Regions from separate parts of the Homo sapiens genome. Here all the other regions are linked to region 7. Evidence: promoter capture Hi-C in 16 types of primary human blood cells and fetal thymus (Javierre and others, 2016). All regions are on one chromosome and are shown on one strand. The core of a region is centred on a gene start or on the middle of the fragment in contact, and the rest is flanking DNA. Distances in the headings are between cores, read along the strand shown.

The links. Contacts are between HindIII fragments. The CHiCAGO score rates a contact against its expected background, and 5 or more counts as called.
Region 1: a fragment that was not itself captured here is called in contact with the fragment with the promoter of SRP19 in region 7 in 13 of 17 cell types (naive CD4 T cells, total CD8 T cells, activated CD4 T cells and 10 more); the score reaches 15.8 in naive CD4 T cells.
Region 2: a fragment that was not itself captured here is called in contact with the fragment with the promoter of SRP19 in region 7 in 13 of 17 cell types (naive CD4 T cells, total CD4 T cells, total CD8 T cells and 10 more); the score reaches 13.5 in naive CD4 T cells.
Region 3: the fragment with the promoter of EPB41L4A-AS1 here is called in contact with the fragment with the promoter of SRP19 in region 7 in 7 of 17 cell types (total B cells, naive CD4 T cells, naive B cells and 4 more); the score reaches 10.2 in total B cells.
Region 4: a fragment that was not itself captured here is called in contact with the fragment with the promoter of SRP19 in region 7 in 3 of 17 cell types (total B cells, erythroblasts and naive B cells); the score reaches 7.2 in total B cells.
Region 5: a fragment that was not itself captured here is called in contact with the fragment with the promoter of SRP19 in region 7 in 2 of 17 cell types (total CD4 T cells and megakaryocytes); the score reaches 6.5 in total CD4 T cells.
Region 6: a contact is called between a fragment that was not itself captured here and the fragment with the promoter of SRP19 in region 7, in 7 of 17 cell types (naive CD4 T cells, fetal thymus, naive CD8 T cells and 4 more). The highest score is 15.5, in naive CD4 T cells.

What each region holds. Positions count from the first base shown.
Region 1 is chr5:113,552,290-113,555,139 of GRCh38, forward strand. YTHDC2 (YTH N6-methyladenosine RNA binding protein C2) reads left to right here. Exons shown (of 30, transcript NM_022828.5): 13 at 892-1,070; 14 at 1,301-1,397; 15 at 1,478-1,565; 16 at 1,653-1,733. Among named protein-coding and RNA genes, the nearest start is that of YTHDC2, 40 kb to the left of the region's middle. The HindIII fragment of the contact is 587 bases long and covers 982-1,568 here.
Region 2 is chr5:113,589,999-113,593,026 of GRCh38, forward strand. YTHDC2 (YTH N6-methyladenosine RNA binding protein C2) reads left to right here. Exons shown (of 30, transcript NM_022828.5): 27 at 1,043-1,246; 28 at 1,998-2,180. Among named protein-coding and RNA genes, the nearest start is that of YTHDC2, 78 kb to the left of the region's middle. The HindIII fragment of the contact is 171 bases long and covers 1,524-1,694 here.
Region 3 is chr5:112,159,276-112,161,775 of GRCh38, forward strand. It overlaps EPB41L4A-AS1 (EPB41L4A antisense RNA 1), which reads left to right and starts at 1,251. Exons shown (of 3, transcript NR_015370.2): 1 at 1,251-2,020; 2 at 2,428-2,500. SNORA13 (small nucleolar RNA, H/ACA box 13) reads left to right here and starts at 2,210; the gene lies at 2,210-2,342. It also overlaps a transcript of EPB41L4A not described here. RefSeq lists enhancers at 1,118-2,317, 1,136-1,345, 1,218-1,950, 1,726-1,825, 1,846-1,895 and 1 more. The HindIII fragment of the contact is 7,805 bases long and covers 1-2,500 here.
Region 4 is chr5:112,176,128-112,179,050 of GRCh38, forward strand. The region is part of intron 18 of EPB41L4A (erythrocyte membrane protein band 4.1 like 4A); the gene reads right to left. Among named protein-coding and RNA genes, the nearest start is that of SNORA13, 16 kb to the left of the region's middle. The HindIII fragment of the contact is 4,623 bases long and covers 1-2,923 here.
Region 5 is chr5:113,572,231-113,575,086 of GRCh38, forward strand. The region is part of intron 23 of YTHDC2 (YTH N6-methyladenosine RNA binding protein C2); the gene reads left to right. Among named protein-coding and RNA genes, the nearest start is that of YTHDC2, 60 kb to the left of the region's middle. The HindIII fragment of the contact is 6,540 bases long and covers 1-2,856 here.
Region 6 is chr5:113,612,087-113,615,178 of GRCh38, forward strand. No RefSeq gene overlaps it. Among named protein-coding and RNA genes, the nearest start is that of YTHDC2, 100 kb to the left of the region's middle. The HindIII fragment of the contact is 2,823 bases long and covers 125-2,947 here.
Region 7 is chr5:112,859,946-112,862,646 of GRCh38, forward strand. It overlaps SRP19 (signal recognition particle 19), which reads left to right and starts at 1,342. Exons shown (of 5, transcript NM_003135.3): 1 at 1,342-1,472; 2 at 2,563-2,638. The coding sequence starts at 1,432. RefSeq lists enhancers at 1,107-1,401, 1,160-1,239, 1,340-1,639. The HindIII fragment of the contact is 2,166 bases long and covers 1,191-2,701 here.

The DNA.
Region 1 (2,850 bases), core at 25-2,524, 690 kb after region 7:
ATCACCACAAAAAGAAACTTGTACCCATTAGGTGTCTCTCCCTATTCCGCCCCAACTCTCCTAGGCCTCCTCCAGCTTTAGACCAACCACTAATCTACTTCCAGTTTCTATAGATTTGTCTATTTTGGACATTTTATATAAATGAAATCATGTGATATGTGGTTTTTGTGATTGGCTTTTTTCAGTTAGCATAAAATATCCATGTTGTAGCACTATTTTTATGACTAATACATATTCTATGGATATACCAAGGTTTGTTTGTATATTTGTCAATTGATGAACACTTAGGTTGTTTCCACTTTCTGACTATGAATAATACTGGTATGAATATTTGTGTACAGATTTTTATGTGGATATATTTTTTTCATTTCTCTTATATATACACCTAGGAGTGGAATTGCTGGGGCATATGGTAACTCTATGTTTAACCTTTTGAAGAACTGCCACATTGTTTTCCAAAGCAGCTTTACCATTTTACATTTCCACCAGCAATGCATGAGGGTTTAAATTTCTCCACACCCTCTCCAACACTTGTTATTGTCTGTCTTTTTGATTGTAGTCATCCTAGTTGGTGTGAAGTGGTATTTCATTGTGGTTTTGATTTGCATTTCCCTGATAGCTAATGATGTTGAACATCTTTTCATGTGCTTATAGGCCATTTGTATATTTACTTTGGAGAAATGCCTTCAGATTGTGCTTTTCTAAAAGCATTCATTGCCAAATTTTACTTTGAATAATGTGCTTGAAATCAAAACATGAATCATATTATAGCTAGGACATTAAGTGTCACTTACCTTACCTTCCTTAGGGAATATTGGAAATTTGAAGGACATAAGGATTACTTTTGTTAATGGAAATTGACTTTGTCTTTTTTTTTTTTTTTTTTTTCAGTGCTACACTGGAATTTGGAAATCTAGATGAAAGTTCTCTGGTTCAAACAAATGGAAGTGACCTCAGTGCTGAAGACAGAGAGCTCCTGAAAGCTTATCATCATAGTTTCGATGATGAAAAAGTAGACTTGGATTTGATCATGCATCTTCTATACAATATCTGCCATAGTTGTGATGCTGGTAAATACGTGTTGTCTAAAAGAACTGGAGCAAAATATATACTTTAAGAATTAATATTTTAAGTGTACAAATTTTTATATAATTGCACTGATAGTAGTAAGTGAATAATCTCCTGTCATCTTATGATAGTTTACCAGTACTTGAAAACATGTGATACAGATTTTTATAATTCTGTTGATTGCCTCTGATTCACAATGAGATTTAATATTAAAAAGTCATTCTTCTCCAAGGTGCAGTACTAATTTTTCTGCCTGGATATGACGAAATTGTTGGACTGAGAGATCGCATCCTGTTTGATGACAAGCGGTTTGCTGACAGTACACATAGGTAAGGGCTAAAGCCTTATATCTGTTGCTTAAAATAACGGACAGGTCTTATAGTATGTTTTCTCTTTCAATTGTCTGCAGATACCAAGTCTTTATGCTTCATTCAAATATGCAAACATCCGATCAAAAGAAAGTATTAAAAAACCCACCTGCAGGTGTTCGAAAAATAGTAAGCTTCATAAAATCTTCTTTTTAACACTTTCATTAGTTATTTTTTCTGTTTTTTTATTAACTTTAAAGTAATATCTTGTTGCAGATTCTTTCCACCAATATTGCTGAAACCAGCATCACAGTCAATGATGTTGTCTTTGTTATTGATTCTGGTAAGGTGAAAGAGGTATGTATGGGTAAGTTGTAGTTTTACTTAAATGAAGAAGATTAAGTTCTACTTCAACAAATACTTTTATTTATTATTTAGTTGTTTTTCTTTTAATTTTACCTCTACTCAAGACAGCTTGGACCAGCGCATGCTTTTATAAGCAGAATTTACGAAAAATGTCTGGTTCTAGATAAATTTAACATACTAAATATTGATTTTACTAAATATTCTGCCTTAAATAATTCAGTATATAGAATCAATTTTTGTTATTTTAACAAAGTATACAAAAATGTAGCTCTGCTCACCAAATACTAGGAAGAAAGTAAAGGGTTTGGTTAGTTATAGTGAAAATGTTGTCACACAGTATGGGAATTTGATTACATATTTTTTATGTTTTCCTTCTACATATGCACATGGATTATGTCTTTGTTCACTGTTAAATCTTTAGTGCCTCACCTATAGCAGGTGTTCAAAAGATACTCAGTTCAAGAGAACCATGCTGAAAGAAAGCAAAGAAATAGATAAACCATGGGATAACCAGCAGCTAAATTGGACTTAACACTTGCTTTTGTAAAAAAAAAGTTTCATTGGAACTCAGCTAGTCTACTTTTACCTTTTCTCTATGGTTGCTGCCTTCATACTGCAAGGCAGATTGGAGTATTTGTAACAGAGACCCTCTCAAAGCCTAAAATATTTACTATTTGAAAGTCCTTTTCAAAAACAGCCAACCTTTGTTATAAAAAAAAAAAAGCCATTTATTTCCTTTTAGTACTGGAATGCCCAGCAGTTGTCCATGTTCCTAACTTTTGGTAGATAACATTCGCTGAAAAAATGAAAGTGGTAAAGATAATTGATTTTTCAAGGGAAGACATATTACTCATGTGTGGAAAGCAAATTATATCTATTTAGTGGATAAAAATGATCGTTTTTAATGTGAAAAAAGTAATTGCCTTATGTTTTCAATGTAATTTTAAGGAATATTTTATAGAAAATAAAATTTTATTATAAAAATTGGCCATATGCTTTATAATTGAATAAAGGTGGGATAAATTTTATTTTTATATAATAGTACATTAATGAGTATTATCACTAAAAATCTTAATGGTGAGCCAATGAAAATTCAGATTTTATTGCC
Region 2 (3,028 bases), core at 359-2,858, 730 kb after region 7:
TGAGAAACGGGTTCAGATTTGTAAAGAGCTAGTAAAAATCTACTTGTAAATGTGTCTGATTGCTCATTGCAATCAGAGTCTCAAGATGACAACAGTATTTAACTTCTCTTCAGCCTTAATTATGTAAATAACAACCTTTGTATATTCTTTGTGTTTCTTATAATTTTGTTGGGCAGCTAGGTTTTTGTATATTCCTTTCAATAGCGTTAGACTTTGTTGTGATGCACAGTTTAGTTGCAATCAGTTGAATCCTTTTGAAGTTTGCTTTTAAGTAATGTTAGGAATGGGCCAGAGCAGTCTTTATTCTGTTATTAATTTAGTTCCAATACTAAGGTATGGCCCTTCTGTGGGCCAGTACCATATATATTACAGGTTCTATCTGTTCTGGCTGAAGATAACACGAAATATTCCCAGCCATGAGTGAGCTCTAGGAATTGTTTGGTCTACTTGTTTTCCTTTGGATCTTTCCCTAGCCTTGGGTTATTTATCTTTTTTCTCACTCATGTTCAGGTCAGCACTTAGCCAAAAACTTGTGGGAACCCCTCTGTGTTTCCTTTGGAGCTCTCTTTATGTGCAGCTCCTTTCTGTCTAAGATAGTACATTGCCATGCACAGTAGCCACTTCGGTCTCTGAACTCCAGTGTCTTTCTGCACAACTTAATGAGACCACTGGACTCTGTTTTTCTTTGTCCTCTGAAAACTGCCTCCAGGCAGTAAGCTGGAGAAGTATTTGTTTTGTTTTCTGATTTTGAAAGTTTATTAAAACAATTTCTGAAAGTATATTTGAGGTATAAACCAAAGTTGGTACTCCAGGAGCCTTTGTTGATAAGGGATTTTGAATGCTCTGAAAATGAGTACTTGTTTTTGGCTAACTTTATTTTGGTTGAGTCTTGTGTAGGTTTCAGACATGATAGAGCTATTTGCATTTGTTGAATATATGATAAAATATTTTGGCTTATATGTTTATGAAGATGTTATTTAATGGAGCCTCTTGGTTTTGAAAGGTCAGGTTACCTTTCAAGAACTTATGTTTTCTTTTATAGGGCTCAAAATCTCCTTCGCCAAGACCAAACATGCCTGTTCGATACTTCATAATGAAGAGTAGCAATTTGAGAAACCTTGAAATTTCTCAACAGAAGGGTATCTGGTCTACAACTCCTAGTAATGAACGGAAGCTAAATCGAGCCTTTTGGGAAAGCAGCATAGTTTACTTGGTATTTTCTGTTCAAGGATCTGGACATTTCCAGGTGAGCCACCCTGAATCAGTAAAATGGGGTTGTTCTGGCTATAGGTTAAATCATAGAGATTTTTAGAAAAACAACTGGCTTTTCATTGCATCAGAATGCAAGAATGCCTTTTGCTTGACTGAGAATAAGGGATATATTGCATCTCTTTAGAGGATGATAGAACTGGAATCCTCTTTGTTTTTGCCTTGTCTTACCAGAGTCTTTCCAGGTAAACTATGTTTCCTTCTGAAGACAACTTTAGATTTACTAATTCTCAAGTGGATTCAAAGTAATGAGAAGCTTGACCTTTTGGTAAAATATTTATTTAAATAGGCCAAGGAAGTTAGTATTGACAATCAGTAAACTAAGTATGTTTCTTAACCCATCACCCATCTTGACTTAATGTATACCTGAATTTATAAAATAATACATTTATTATTTGATGTTTATTATAATTTTTGGAAATGAAAGCTTAGAGGTTAGCTTGTATCCATTTATCATGGAATAAAAATATGGACTTTGCTATTTTATTTAGAAATCATTATTGATATTTGAAATTGTTAGGAGGCTAGAACTGTTTTTTTCTAAAATTTGCTAAGAGAGCTTTTAATGAAAAATTTAGTAGCTTATTTTTTGTTTTTGTTAGGTATCTGTTATTTCAATATTATATCTTAATCTTAAAATTTTAAAAACTCAGCCTTCTCAGATAAATTAAATTTAGACATGCTAATCTCCTCCTCACCTCTATTCCTTCCTCCCATTTTACCTACAGGGATTTTCTAGGATGTCTTCTGAGATTGGAAGGGAAAAGAGTCAGGACTGGGGCTCTGCTGGACTAGGAGGAGTATTTAAGGTGGAGTGGATACGAAAAGAAAGCCTTCCCTTTCAATTTGCACACCATTTACTCAATCCATGGAATGACAACAAGAAAGTGCAGATAAGCAGGGATGGGCAGGTATACAATGGCATTTTTTTTTTTATTTACTTTTGTTTCTGTTTGTTTTCTGTTATCCAGTGCTTTAATTGAGGAGAAAATGTAAGAGTACAAATTTTATATTCCATATGCACATGGGAAACAGGGGTTCAGGTTTGTAAAAAGATAGTAAAAACCTACTTGTAAATGTGTCTGATTGCTCCTTGCAGTCAGAGTCTCAAGATGACAATAGTATTTAACTTCTCTTTGGCTTTAATTATGTAAAGTAAATAACCTTTTTATATTCTAGTGGCTTGTTTATTTCTATTGTGTTTTGCTTTGTCTTCATGATGCTATTTACATGCATTTTAAGCTAGTTAAGATGATGGAAATTAATGTATATTGACCAAATACTATGCTAGCTGCTTTAGAAGATATAATTTATTTCTTATGATTAAATTATTAGTCCAATTTTATATAGGAGAAAATAGACTCAAAGATTAGTTTTGCCTAAGGTCACACAGCTAATAATTTATCTGAACCAGTATGACTCGTTTCAAATCACCATGTAAAAAGTGTTTGGGTTCTTCTTAAGTGCTTATCATAGGTTATCATTCCACAGGAGTACTATGAAGTGGGATTCTTTTCAATTGTGTGAGAATAATTTCATTTTTATTCTATAATAATGATTTTGAAGAAATATGTTAGCTAGAAATCTTAGAAGAAAAAATATTTTAATAATTTTCAAGATAAGAAGATATAGTTGCTTAAGAGAGTTCCTTGGAAAAAAACCCAACATCGAATATGCTAGGTTTCACAGTAAACCTTTGGAAGTTCCAGCTGAGTGCTTTTGCTGAATCTCTATGAAAAACAAAATCCATTATTTTTAG
Region 3 (2,500 bases), core at 1-2,500, 700 kb before region 7:
TTCTTTCTTTTATAGAAGTAGGCTTCAAAGAAACAACGAAAGGTGCTAAAACTGGTCTCTGGATGAATCTCTGCTAGGACTTAGAGAAACATGGAGACCTAGTTGTTATCATACAACTTGTCTTGCTGCCACTTGTCCTGTCCCTTCAAGGAGTTATGGTTATCAGGAAAAAAGCCAATTAACAAACTCTGCTTAATTTTTGTGGTGATAATTAATCAACTCTAAGATTTCAGCATAAAATCCCAACACCTTGCCCTGTGTGACAAGACCCTAAGTGCCTTGCTCCTGCCTGGCTCTCCAGCTGCATCTTGTCACTCTACACTCCTTACTCGACTCCAGCCACACTGGCCAAGGCCTGCTGTCTCCAGATCTTGCATAACCGCCTTCACACATCTGCTCGGAGTTCACTTCCAGTCTTCCTATTCCTAGCCCCATGAGCTACTGAACACTTGAAATGTGTCTAGTCTGAACGGAAATGTGCTGGAAGTATAAAATATACACCGGATTTTTATGACTTAGTAGATATAAAAGAAATATCTTATTAATAATCTCATATTGATTGCCTGTTGAAATATTTAAAATATGTTGGGTTATTATTAAAATTAATTTGATCTGTTTCTTTTTACTTTTTTTTTTTTTTTTTTGAGACGGAGTTTCGCCCTTTTGTCCAGGCTGGAGTCAAGTGGCATGATCTCGGCTCACCGCAACCTCCACCCCCACCCCGCCCGGGTTCAAGCCATTTCTCCTGCCTCAGCCTCCCAAGTAGCTGGGATTATAGACGCCCGCCACCAAGCCCAAGTAATTTTTGTATTTTTAGTAGAGACGGGGTTTTGCCATGTTGGCCAGGCTGGTCTTGAACTCCTGACTTCAGGTGATCACCTGCCTCAGCCTGCCAAAGTGCTGGGATTACAGGCATGAGCCACCGCGCCCGGCGTTCTTTTCACATTTTATGTGGCAATTGGAAAATTTAAAATTACACTCATGGCTCACACTGTTTCCATCGGACAGCGCTACCCTATGGCATGACCCTCTTTTGCTGCCCTCCTGGCACTTACATTGTAGAATTTCAGCATCCGGGCTCACTTGGTCAGTGGCCTACTCACCCAAGCAGAATGTACCACAGAAACCTTGCCTGGCTCACCCACACCTGATTCCCAGGCACTCAGGCCAGGGCCTGGAGCATAGTAAGTGCTGACTAAATATCTTTCGAATGAATGACTCTACTCTTCCTCAGCTGGACTCATGAATTCTGTCGGGTCCCAAAATACGTGGTCTAAAGTCCTTTGGGCTCCTGCCGCTGCCAGCACTGATCATATGCTCTTGACCCTGGTCGGGTGGGGGGATGTCTGGATACCTCCTCTGTGGAAAGAACTGGCCACACATCCGCAGAGGTGACTCGGGCTGAGAACCCAGGCTCCTCCTCCCTTTGGTGACACGCCCCTCGGTCCCTCACTGGCACTTCTCCCTCCGGCCACACGGCGGCGTCTCGCCATAGCGCAGCGGCCGATGGTACAGCCCGCTCCCCCCTCGCGCTCTCGGACAGTGGGTCCTTCCACTTGTAGAAAAGCATTGTGGGACGGAAGCCTGTCCTTTCTTCCTTTTGGTGCGAGCTTGCTGTGGTTTTTGCTCTGGGTCCTCTGGGATGGCGCCTGGCTGTGGCCGCGTGGTCTCTCACGCAGGGGCGCCGGGCGGGGGAACGCGGCCACCCTGAGTCTGGTGAGTCGACTGCGGCGGCCTGTGTCCGAAGTGTCCGGGGCCGTGAACAAGGGCAGCGGCCTGGCCTCAGGCCTGCGTTCCCACGTTTGGAAACGGGGAGCTTCGTCGATTTGTGTTTACATCATCGACTATGCCAGGGAGTTCTCCAGATAAGCCTGGTTTTATTTTCGTCAGTGAAAAGGCCTTACCGTATAACTGACTTTATGCTTGCCCTGCCCCCGTATAAAATAACTTAAAAGCAGCGTGCCTGGTTACAGCTGTTTCCACGTGCGGTGCTCGTCGGGAGTGATCACCTACCCTACAGGTGAGTTTTCACGTTCGTGCAAGACCAGTCGCCATTTAAAACGCATCGCATTTCACTTTTCATTATTAAGTCGGATTTTAAATCGTGAGAAAATTTCTCTGAAATGTATTGTCCGTTTTTAGGCTGTAATCGGCATTACTGTCAGCCAGTCAGCAACCTTATGCCATAAAGCCTACCTCACGCAGTGTCAGCCTTTGTGTTGCCCATTCACTTTGGAAACTAGTGAATGTGGTGTCAAAAAAGGCGTAAATTAAACGCTTTGCAGCCTTTTCCTGCCCTTAAATTTGATACCTTTGGTGTAGGAGCTGCATAAGTAACAGTTGCTGCTTTTACGTTTCCACGCGTGATCTTGACCCTGCTAGCCTTAAGTGTATGGTTTCTCTTAGCCAGTTCTAATTTTTGTTCAGGTGGAAGATGGATGCCTGAAGTGTAGACTGCTGCTAGCTGAATACCATCTGGGAGCATAAAGGTGACCTGAAG
Region 4 (2,923 bases), core at 241-2,740, 680 kb before region 7:
CTGTGACACAGGCACAACCTCACTTAATGCTCAGCAAAATCCTAAGAGCGTGGTACCATCAGTGTTGTAGAGATGGAAGCTCATGGGGATCAGGTAATAAGCTGAAGATCCAGAATGCAAACAACAGCACCCAGCAGGTATTTTATTAATTGTCAATCAATCTCAGGCTTTTAACAGTCATAACTCAAATAAAGGACAGAGCTCAGTTTGTGCTATATGAAGTAATCCATCATCCTTAAGAGTTACAACATTTGTATTCAGTTGTCCACCTGACATTTCCATTAACTGCCTACTTGGCATCTCAAACCTAACAAAGAGAAATCTTGATTCTCTCCCCCCCAAAACATTCCTGGCCCATCCCTTCCCATCTCAGTAAAACACGATGCTACCCACTCAGTGCATCTGCTCAGAAACTCAATGTCATCCATAATACCGCTCACACTACAAATCTGTCAGCTGTACTTCCAAAATGTATATTCATCTACTCTCTTCATTTCACCACCACCATCTTTTCTGAGCTAAAAGCGTCTCACGTGGACCACTGCAAAGTTTTCTAATTGCTTTCCTGCTTCCTTTCTTCCTCTTTCTCAATCTGCTTTTTACCCACCAGAGCAACTTTTTTTTTTTTTTTTTTTTTTTTTTTTGAGATGGAGTTTCACTCCTGTTGCCCAGGCTGAAGTGCAATGGCGCCATCTCGGCTTACTGCAACCTCCGCCTCCCAGCTTCAAGCAATTCTCCTGACCCAGCCTCCCAAGTAGCTGGGATTACAGGCACCCACCACCACACCCAGCTAATTTTTGTATTTTTAGTAGAGACGAGGTTTCACCACGTTGGCCAGGCTTGTCTTGAACTCCTGAACTCAGGTGATCGGCCTGCCTTGGCCTCCCAAAGTGCTGGGATTACAGGCATGAGCCACCGTCCCCGGCCAGCAACTTCTAAATGAACTACTATCCACACAAATATATATATATAATTTTTTTTTCTACTTTAACTGCACTTTGGCCGTATCAGCTGAGAAATCTGACACAGGTCCTACTGGACTAAAATCAAGGTGTTGGCATGGCTGCATTCCTTTCTGCAGACTCAAGGGAAAATTCATTTTCTTGTGTTTTCCATCTTCTGGAGCTGCCCACATTTATTCGTTCAAGGCCTTTTCCTCTATTTTCAAAGCCAGCAACAGCAGGTTGAGTCCGTTTCAAACTGAAACACTCTTCCTCTTCTGTCACCTCTTCCACTTTTAAGAAACTTATGATTACTTTGGGCCTACTTGGATAATCCAGGATAATATCTCTGGGTGAGGGTCAACTGATTAACAACAGCCTTAATTCCACCTGCAATCTTAACTCCTCTCTGCCATCTAGGGTCATATATTCACACATTATGGAGATTAAGCCATGGACATATATCAGGGGTCATTATTCTTCCCACCACAGTAACTAAGGTTTTTCCTCCTCTTAATTTCTTTATATAAAAACTCACTGTTTAAGCAAAGATACATTAACATTTTAATACGAGGCTTCTAACAGGCAAAAATAAAATATATGACAATAGCACAAAGCACAAGTGGAGCTATATTTTTCCAATGTTTCTAAATTTTAAATGTTACAATATTCATCTTAGGGTGTGATAAGGAACCATACTGATAAGAATCATACTTACAGAGAGAAAGCAATAAATAAAAAAATAATAAAAGTATAGGTAAGATATCAGTAGAGAAAATAAAATGGAGTATCAAAAAATATTCAGTTCACACAAAATAAAGTAGGAAGGGAGCAACAAACCAACAAAAAACAGGCGTAATAAACCAGAAAAAAGAACAAGATGGTAGATTTATATCGCAAAATACAAATAATTATGTTAACTGCTAGCAGGCTAAACACTGAACTTAAAAGACAGGGATTGTCAGGCTAGAATTAAAAAAAAAAAACAAAAAGACCAACTGTACACTGTTTACAAGAGGTGGACTTTAAATATAAAGACATAACTAGGCTTAAAGTAACAGATTAAAAGGATATACCATGCAAACAGTAAACATGAAGAAGGTATGGTAGAATTTATGCGTGTGCATGTGTAGTGGACACAGAGAAAGTATTGCCAGAATAAAGGGTCATCAGTTCATCAGGAAGGAAAAAACCATACATATGCATACACCTAACACCAGAGCTTCAAAATAACTTGAAGTAAAAACTGACAGAATTAAAGGAAAAAACAGACAAATTGACAATCACTGTTGTAGATTTTAACATCCCTCTCTCAATGACTACTTGAAAAGTAGATGAAGAAATAAAAAAAAAGACACAATCTGAACACTATCAGCTAACTGCATCTATTCGACAACCAGTAACTGAGACTCCTCATTCTTCTTGAGTCTACAGATTATTCATCATTAAAAACCATATGCTAGGCCTTAAAACAAGTCTCAATAAATTTCAAGGGATTAAAACTGTTCAGACTTTTTTTTTTAACCACAATGGAATTAAATTAGAATAATAATAATATTTGTAGAAAATCCTGAAATATTTGGAAATTAAACACACAACTAAAAATGCCAGCATCAAAAAAAGACAAGATACATTAAAAATTATTTTGAACTGTATGATAACAAAAACAATGTCAAAAACATGTGAGATATAGTTAAAGCATGGCTGAAAGGGAAATTTATAAATTTATGCTTATATTGGAAAAGTAGAAAGGTTTAAAATAAATGTTATCCTAAGAAGATGAAAAAAGAAGAGCAGGTAAAAGACAAAATAAAAAGAATAAAAAGTACAGTCAATGAAACAGACAACAGATAGCAAAGAAAAAGCAACAAAATCTAAAATTGGTTCTCTGAAAAAAATAAATTAAAAAAAAATGAAGAGAAAACACAAATCACCAACATCAGGAATTAAAGTGGTGATATCACAACAGATTTCACAGATGT
Region 5 (2,856 bases), core at 349-2,848, 710 kb after region 7:
AGAGTCATTCAGGAGCAGGTTGTTCAGTTTCCATGTAGTTGTGTGGTATTGAGTGAATGTCTTAGTCTTGAGTTCTAATTTGATTGTGCTGTGGTCTGATAGACTGTTATGATTTTACTTCTTTTACATTTACTGAGGAGTGTTTTACTTCCAGTTATGTGATCAATTTTAGAATAAATGCCATGTGGCGATGAGAAGAATGTATATTCTCTTGTTTTTGGGTAGAGAGTTCTGTAGATATCTATCAGGTCCACTTGATCCAGAGCTGAGTTCAGGTCCTGAATATCTTTGTTAATTTTCTGTCTTGATGATCTGTCTAATGTTGTCTGTGGGGTGTTAAAGTCTCCCACTATTATTGTATGGGAGTCTAAATCTCTTTGTAGGTCTCTAAGAACTTGTTTAATGAATCTGGGTGCTCCTGTATTAGCTTGCATATATATTTAGGATCATGAGTTCTTTTTGTTGAATTGAGCCCTTTACCACTGTGTAATGCCTTTCTTTGATCTTTATGGTTTAAAGTCTGTTTTATCAGAAACTAGGATTGCAACCACTGCCTTTTTCTGTTTTCCATTTGCTTGGTAAATTTTCCTCCATCCCTTTCTTTTGAGCCTATGTGTGGCTTTGCATGTGAGATGGGTCTTTTGAAGACAGCATACTCGTGGGTCTTGGCTCTTTATCCAGTTTGCCATTCTGTGCCTTTCACTTGGGACATTTACCCCATTTACCTTCAATATTACTTTTATGGTTATGTATTGTTATGTGTGAATTTGATTCTGTCATGATGCTAGCTGGTTATTTTGCAGACTTGTTTATGTGGTTGCTTCATAGTGTTACTGGTTTGTGTACTTCCGTGTGTTTTTGTAGTGGCTGGTAATGGATTTTTCCCTTTCATATTTAGTGCTTCCTTCAGGAGCTCTTGCAAGGCAGGCCTGGTGGTGACATATTCCCTCAGCATTTGCTTGTCTGAAAAGGATCTTATTTCTCCTTCACTTATAAAGCTCAGTTTGGCTGGATATGAAATTCTGGGTTGGAAATTCTTTTCTTTAAGAGTGTTGAATATTGGCCCCCAATCTCTTCTGGCTTGTAGGGTTTCCTCTTAGAGGTCTACTGTTAGTCTGATGGGCTTCCCTTTGTATGTAACCTGGCCTTTCTCTCTGGCTGCCCTTAACATTTTTTCTTTCCTTTAGACCTTGGAGAATCTGATGATTTTTTTGTCTTGGGGTTGATCTTCTCATGGAGTATTATACTAGGGTTCTCTGGATTTCCTGAATTTGAATGTTGGCCTGTCTTGCTAGGTTAGGGAAGTTCTGGATGATATCCTGAAGTATGTTTTCCAGCTTGGTTCTATTCTCTTTTATCTTTCAGCTACCCCAGTCAGTTATAGGTTCAGCCTCTTTATATAATCCCATATTTCTTGGAGGTTTTGTTCATTTCTTTTTTCATTCTTTTTTCTCTATTCTTGTCTGCCTGTTTTATGTCAGAAAGACGGTCTTCAAGCTCTGAGATTCTATTCTCTGCTTGGTCTGTGCTTCTGTTGATACTTGTGATTGCATTGTGAAGTTCTCCTGTTGTGTTTTTCAGCTCCGTTAGGTCGGTTATGTTCTTCTCTAAACTGGCTATTAGCTCCCGTATTGTTTTATCATGATTCTTAGCTTTTTTGCATTGGGTTACAATATGCTTCTTTAGCTCAGCGAAGTTTGTTATTACCCACCTTCTGAAGCCTACTTCTGTCATTTTAGCCATCTCAGCCTCAGCCCAGTTCTGTGCCCTTGCTAGAGAGGTATCACAATCATTTGGAGGAGAAGAGGCACTCTGGCTTTTTGAGTTTTCAGCATCTTTGCATTATTTCTCACCTTTGCGGGCTTATCTACCTTTGATCTTTGAGGATGCTGACCTTTGAATGAGGTTTTTGTGGAGTCTTTTCTGTTGATGTTGTTGTTGTTTTCTGTTTGTTTTTCTTTTAGAGTCAGGCCAGTCTTCCATAGGGCTGCTGCGGTTTGCTGGGGCTCCCCACCAGACCTCAGTTGCCTCAGTTTTTCCTGTACCTGGAGGTATCACCAGTGAAGTCTGCAAAACAGCAAAGATGGAAGCCAGCTCCTTCCTCTGGAAGTTCTGTCCTGGGGGTTATTGGCCTGTTGCTGGCCCACATGCATCTGTAGGAGGTGACTGGAAGCCCCTGTTCTGAGGTCTCACCCAGTCAGGAGGAATGAGATCAGGGACCTGTACAAAGAAGCAGTCTGGCTGCTTTTTGATACAGCAGGTGTGCTGCATTGGTGGGAACCCTTCCTCATCCAGACTGCCTGTATAGCCATCAGGCTGGAGTGGCTGAGTCAACCAAACCACAAAGATAGCAGCCACCCCTCCCCCTGGGAACTCGGCCCCATCTCAGACAGACCAACCCACTGCTGTTGGCTGGCTGGCATCCCAAGCCAGTAGGTCATAATTGGTGAGGTGCCATGGAAGTGGATCCCACAGAATGATGCTGCTTGGCTTCCTGGATTCAGCCCCCTTCCTAGGGATATGTACAAACAGATTTCCTGCCTTGCTAGGGATCCCAGGGCCAGAGTATGTAAAACTCCTACGTTTCTGTGTGTGCCTGAGTGGCTGCTCTGCCAACACTCCACACAGATCTGTGGCATGGGCTCACAAAGGGATCCCCTGATTCACAGGTTGCAAAGATCCATGGGAGAAATGTGGTTTCCCGGGAGGGGTCATATAATCACTCACTGCTTCCCTTGGCTGGGGGTGAGGGTTCCTTTTGCTCTGTGCTGCTCCTGTGTGGGCTGTCGCCTTCACCTACTTTTCTTCATTCTCCATGGGTTGATTTGTATGTATGCCTAGTATGTCCGAATGTGA
Region 6 (3,092 bases), core at 286-2,785, 750 kb after region 7:
AGTTCTATATAATTGCTTTCTCCTTTTGAAAGTTCACTCATTTGTCTGCATTAATTGTCACTAGTATTACTACCTTTTATCCGCTAGATGGTGATATTGTACGTGTTTTCATGCACCAATCATAAGCTTCATTGATATGAATTGAAATAGCTCAGTGGTTTAAACGAAACCTCTTCAAAACCATTTGAGGGAAGGAAGGAATTTTAGAAACTGCATATTCCTTCTCCTTGTCTTACACATGAGGAACTGCGTTCCCAAAAGTTTAAGAGAGAGCCTTGACTGGAAAAAAAACCCCTTTGAAAAAATGGAAAGGATGCCCTGAGGGGAAGGAGCACCTGGAGTCTGGGCTCTCCTCTTTCAACCCCAAATCACTTTAGGATGCACCTCTGGCTAGCTGAGAGACTGGGGGTGGTGCTGGTTGTGGACTTTAGATGCCTTTGGCTCTGAGACACATATATTTCAGTTAAAACTGACCATGACTGAAAATCTGATCCTTCTCTTGGGATCCTGATAATGCTAAAGAGAGCTTTACTTAGGGAAGAGTTTGCAAAGAAAGCCGCTTTTCTCTGACATAAGCCTCCCCTCTCCCCTTTCCTGGTTAGCTTTAGACATTTCTTAAGTGCAGTATGTTATTTTGAGGGCCAAAGGTAACCCTATATAGATGTACGTATTATGATAACAGGAATGAGTGACTGAGGCAAAAGTCTTGTTATCAATGGTGAATATCACAGTTACTGTTGGATAATCTGTGTGGGTCTGCAGCAGCCTCAGTTCTTGACTCCTCAGAAGAAAGAATTCAACTAAGGGGCATAAGGCAGAAGAAAAGACCAAGGCAAGTTTCAGAGCAGGAATGAAAAGAAAGTAAAGTACACTTGGAAGAGGGTCAAGTGGGAATGTTGGAGGTAAAGTGCCCTGTTTGACCTTGGACTTAGGGTTTTATATGCTGCCAGTGTCTTGCCTCCCTTTTACCTTGATTCTTCCCTTGGGGTGAGCTGCCCACATGTGTGGTGCTGCTAGCACTTGGGAGGTGAGTATGTGCAGTATGTTTACTGGAGTTGTAAGCATGCTCACCTGATGCAGTCTTCCGTTTTCCAGAGGAATGCCCCCAGAAAGTCATATACCAGTTAATTTGCACCATTTTGCCTCTTAATGCATATGTTTGAGCCCACTCACCCAATTCCTGAGATCTTATTGGGAAGCTGCTGATCTCCAGTTTCAGTTGTTTTTATCTAATGGGAAACTGCCTTTCTCTGGCAGAGGCTGTGACCAATTATCATTTTGGAGAGGCCATGTGACAAACTGCCTGACCATCACCTGATGGTTGCCTGGCATTCCTGGTGGTGGTTAGGGGAGCCCTCTCTTGCCCTGCTCGTGCCTCATGGCTGTGTCCCCACCCAGATTTCATCTTGAATTCCCACGTGTTGTGGGAGAGACCAGGTGGGAGGTAATTGAATCATGGGGGCAAATCTTTCCCATGCTGTTCCTGTGATAGTGAGTAAGTCTCACGAGATCTGATGGTTTTAAAAAGAGGTATTCTCCTGCACACGCTCCCTCATTTTTTGCCTGCTGCCATCCAGTTAAGATATGACTTGCTCCTCCTTGCCTTCTGCCATGATGTGAGGCTTCCCTAGCCACATGGAACTGTAAGTCCAATTAAACCTTTTTCTTTTGTAAATTGCTCAGTCTCAGGTATGTCTTTACCAGCACCATGAAAACGAACTAATACACCTGACTAGCTACCTACTGTAACAGTCTCAACTATCTAGATTTATTAAGCCAGCTTTAGGGTATTCTGCGAAAAAATAAGCCATAGACATATGTTCTTCTCTGATTGTTTTTCAGAGAGGTTTTCAGGAGTTCAGTATTTATACACTTCCTTAAAGCAGGGGAAGGCATTTGGAAGAGAGACAGGTAGGCAGTTAGATGAATTACATTCTTATGTAATTTGGAAGAGATTACGGCATTTGGAAGAGAGACAGGTAGGCAGTTACATTCTTATGAGACTTTAGTTAGTGGCCAGTGAATCTACATTTTACATGGGATAAAGGGAACCCCTGAAGAGAAAAAAAGGAGTAAAGGAGAATCAATAATGCAGACATTTCTGGGTAGATGGAGGAAGTGACTGACCTCATCTTGTCTTTGTTCTGTACCTGGTAAGATATGTATAACAGACTTTAGTCTTAGGAACTAGACTTAGACTGTAGACCCACAGTTACAATTGGCATGTCCTTGTTTATGGGAGGCCAGCAAATAATTTACTTATGAGTGATCTGTGGAGACAGCCCTCCCTAGATGCCTGAGGCCTTTCACTTCTCCACCTCTCCTTGAGGATCTGGCTGATGCATAATGCTAGTAGCAGCTATTCATTTGCAAGAGGATGTTGCACGACTCAGTCTTCAGGCTTAACCTTCCTTTTGCATAAGGAGTTTGGGGGTCCTGAGATTCTTTAAAATTTTCCTTTACAATAAGCAGTTTTGACAACACTTAAGAGATGTGCTGTAAATATTAGTGTTTGGAGTTCCCAGACATGAAGATAGAGAAAGCCTCAAGTCACATGGGCTGCGAGAGTGGAGCACGGTGGAAAAGTGGCTGGACAGATTCTCACAAGCAGTGGGTCTTCCTCAATGAGTTCTGTGGCATCCTTCATGTTCAGACCATTAAACCAAGGCACCAAATGGAGCTACCACATGTGCTCAGGACCCACGTTTCTGGAGGATAATCCTTCCAAATGAATCCTCCAAAAGTGTCTTTAAGCAGTATCCAAAGCTACTGCTATGTCTTTTCCCCTCCACTTCCCTATTATGTTTGCTCCTCAGTCCTCAGCCACACCCTAGAAAAGACAGGAATCAAAGTACCTTTCCTTCACACTTCTTTCCACCAAAGCTAACAATATTAAATTAATAAAGTGCCTTTTAAAAACCAACCTTTCCATTTGCACTAATAGACAAGCTTTGCTATATCTGAAACTCAAGGTTGTCTCTGCTAAATTTCAGTAAACAATTGTGAAAGTCATGATGATGGATAATCACTGTCGTCTCTACAGGTCCACTATCCTATGCCTCAATATGCTGACCTTTATGTTCTTTGATTTC
Region 7 (2,701 bases), core at 92-2,591:
TCTTGCACTGTCGCCAGGCTGGAGTGCAGTGGTGTGATCTTGGCTCACTGCAACCTCCACCTCCTGGGTTCAAGAGATTCCCCTGCCTCCCGAGTAGCTGGGACTAAAGGCCTGTGCCACCATGCCTGGCTTATTTTTTATATTTTAGTAGAGATGGGGTTTCACCATGTTGGCCAAGATGGTGTCTATCTCCTGACCTCGTGATCCACCTGCCTCGGCCTCCCAAAGTGCTGGGATTACAGGCGTGAGCCACCGCACCCGGCCTTAAAACTATTACAATAGTAACAGCAAACATCACTGATCACCGATCACCATAACAGAAATAATGAAAAGGTTTGAAATATTGCAAAAATTACCAAATGTGACACAAAGTATACGCTGCTGGAAAAATGGCACCAAGCAACTTCTTTCAGGCGGATTTGCCAAAAACCTTCCATTTGTAAAAAGGCAGTATCTACTCGCAGCAGCAAGTGAAGTGCAATAATGAAGTATGCCTGTAGTGATGGCACATGGTATCCTTCAGAAGTTTTAAAAGGTGAATAGTTTTGTTTCGTTTTTCCTAGACGGAGTCTTGCTCTGTTACGCAGGCTGGAGTGCAGTGGTGTGATCTCAGCTCACTGCAACCTCCACCTCCTGGGTTCAAGTGATTCTCCTGTCTCAGCCTCCGAGTAGCTGGGATTACAGGCGTGTGCCACCACACTCGGCTAATTTTTGTATTTTTAGTACAGACGGGGTTTCAGCATGTTGGCCAGGCTGCTCTCCAACTCCTGACCTCATGATCCACCTGCCTCAGTCTCCCAAAGTGCTGGGATACAGGCGTGAGCCACCGCACCCGGCCTAAAAGGTGAATAGCTAAGTTTCTAACGCAGAGCACACTGAAACACAACGTCTATAACTTTGCTAGTTCTACCACTACAAAAATCCATTTTGCCAAACTGAAAGCAAGCTCTAGAGCCCAGGAACGGAGAAAAATTAAACGTAAGGAGTATTTCCTTCCCTGTCTAACATATATTTGCATCCTGAACCACACAGATTCCCCTCGTGGCACAGTCTTCGCCCCTTAACAGAGAGTAGCTAGTACCACCCATACTCGCTGAGAAACTGGAAACGAGGGAGGGTCGAAGTTAAACCCTTTTTAGTGGCGGTGCATGCGCCCCACATGGTCTTCCCGGCTTGGGAAAGGAATGAGAAGCTTTCATGATTCTCTCGCGAGAAGGGAAGTCTTCATGCCACGTCAGAGACTAGAGATCCTGGCGCCGAGCGACAGGTGCCGGAACAAACAGGCGATGAGAAATCGCGGACGCGGAACCATTTCTTGGGCAGGACTTCCGGCGGAAAAGCGGGCTGTCTCGGAAACTCAGAGCCGGGTTCCTCCCGGGTTTCTGCCGGGTTTCTCCCTGCGGCTCCTGGGTTGTTGAGACTCTTGTGAAGATGGCTTGCGCTGCCGCGCGGTCCCCGGCCGACCAGGACAGGTGGGTTCTGAGGCGGTGGGTCCTCCGAAAGGAAGGGGCTTGCTGTGGTGCTGCAGGTGCTACACCGCGCTTCTCCGCTCCGCGGCCTCCAGAATGGCCTAGCTGATCCAACTCGCTCTGTACGGGCCCCGCGCCTCTCCCTGGCAGCTCGTTTTTCTGAATCCTGCAGCAGCCACCAGGCTCTTCTCAGGGCTCCTGAAATTCCGACCATAGGTAGCCTAGTGTTTATCTGTACGCGAGACAAGGATTTTGGGTGCTACGTGGACATGATATCAAGTAATATAATCACAGTGTGAGAAATGTGTTCTTTTTAAGTATTGTTGCGTTCAGAAAGGCTCATTTGTGAAATTTTAAGGTTTTTAATACCTCGGACACTTTATATAAGAGGGCGGGCCCATTCTCAGGAACTTTTGACGGGCTGCTCTGTCTAATGTAACAGTTACCCAAGTCGTTTTGTTTCTATTCCTGTGGTTTTTTTCCATCCAAGGTAGTGGATAAAGTTTATTTTTAAATAAGTTAAAGTGAGGTAATTTAAAGAAATAACATTAAGCAAATAATAGCATAGGTGTACCAGCAATGATGACGACTACCACGGACCGAAAGAATGTATTTTTGAAAATACTTGTTATCTGTTGAGTGTAGTTGTCCAGGTTCTTGGCGTTTTGAATAAGGAATTGAACAAAACACACAAAGCAAGGCAGCGAAAGCAGATTTATTTTAAACAAAAGTACACTCCACAGGGTGGGAGCCGGCTCCAGCAAGCTACCCAAGAGCTGTTGGTTACAGAATTTTCTAGGGTTTAAATACCCTCTAGACGTTTCCCATTGACCTGTGCCAGTCTGATTGGTTGAGGGAGGGGGATCAATCAGAAAGAGGAGTAGGCCCGCGGCCAGTCTGATTAGTTGCTCGAGGGGACCACTCCGAGGTACTTTGATTTTTCAACTGCCACGCAGAAAAAGGAGGGGTTGAAAAGGGAGTACCCATCTGATATCTAGGCAGCATGAATTGGCCTTTGGTTCCCTGCCACCCGACCCTTTTCTCCTGCCTCTTACTGCTCTAGTGATACCACTTATGCTATTGTCTATGGCAGGTTTATTTGTATCTATCCTGCTTATTTAAATAATAAGAAGACCATCGCAGAGGGAAGGCGAATCCCCATAAGTAAGGTAAGCAAGATGGCTGGCACCTTGATCCTCGAGGGAATGGGGGGTGTCATCCTGGTCGGGCCA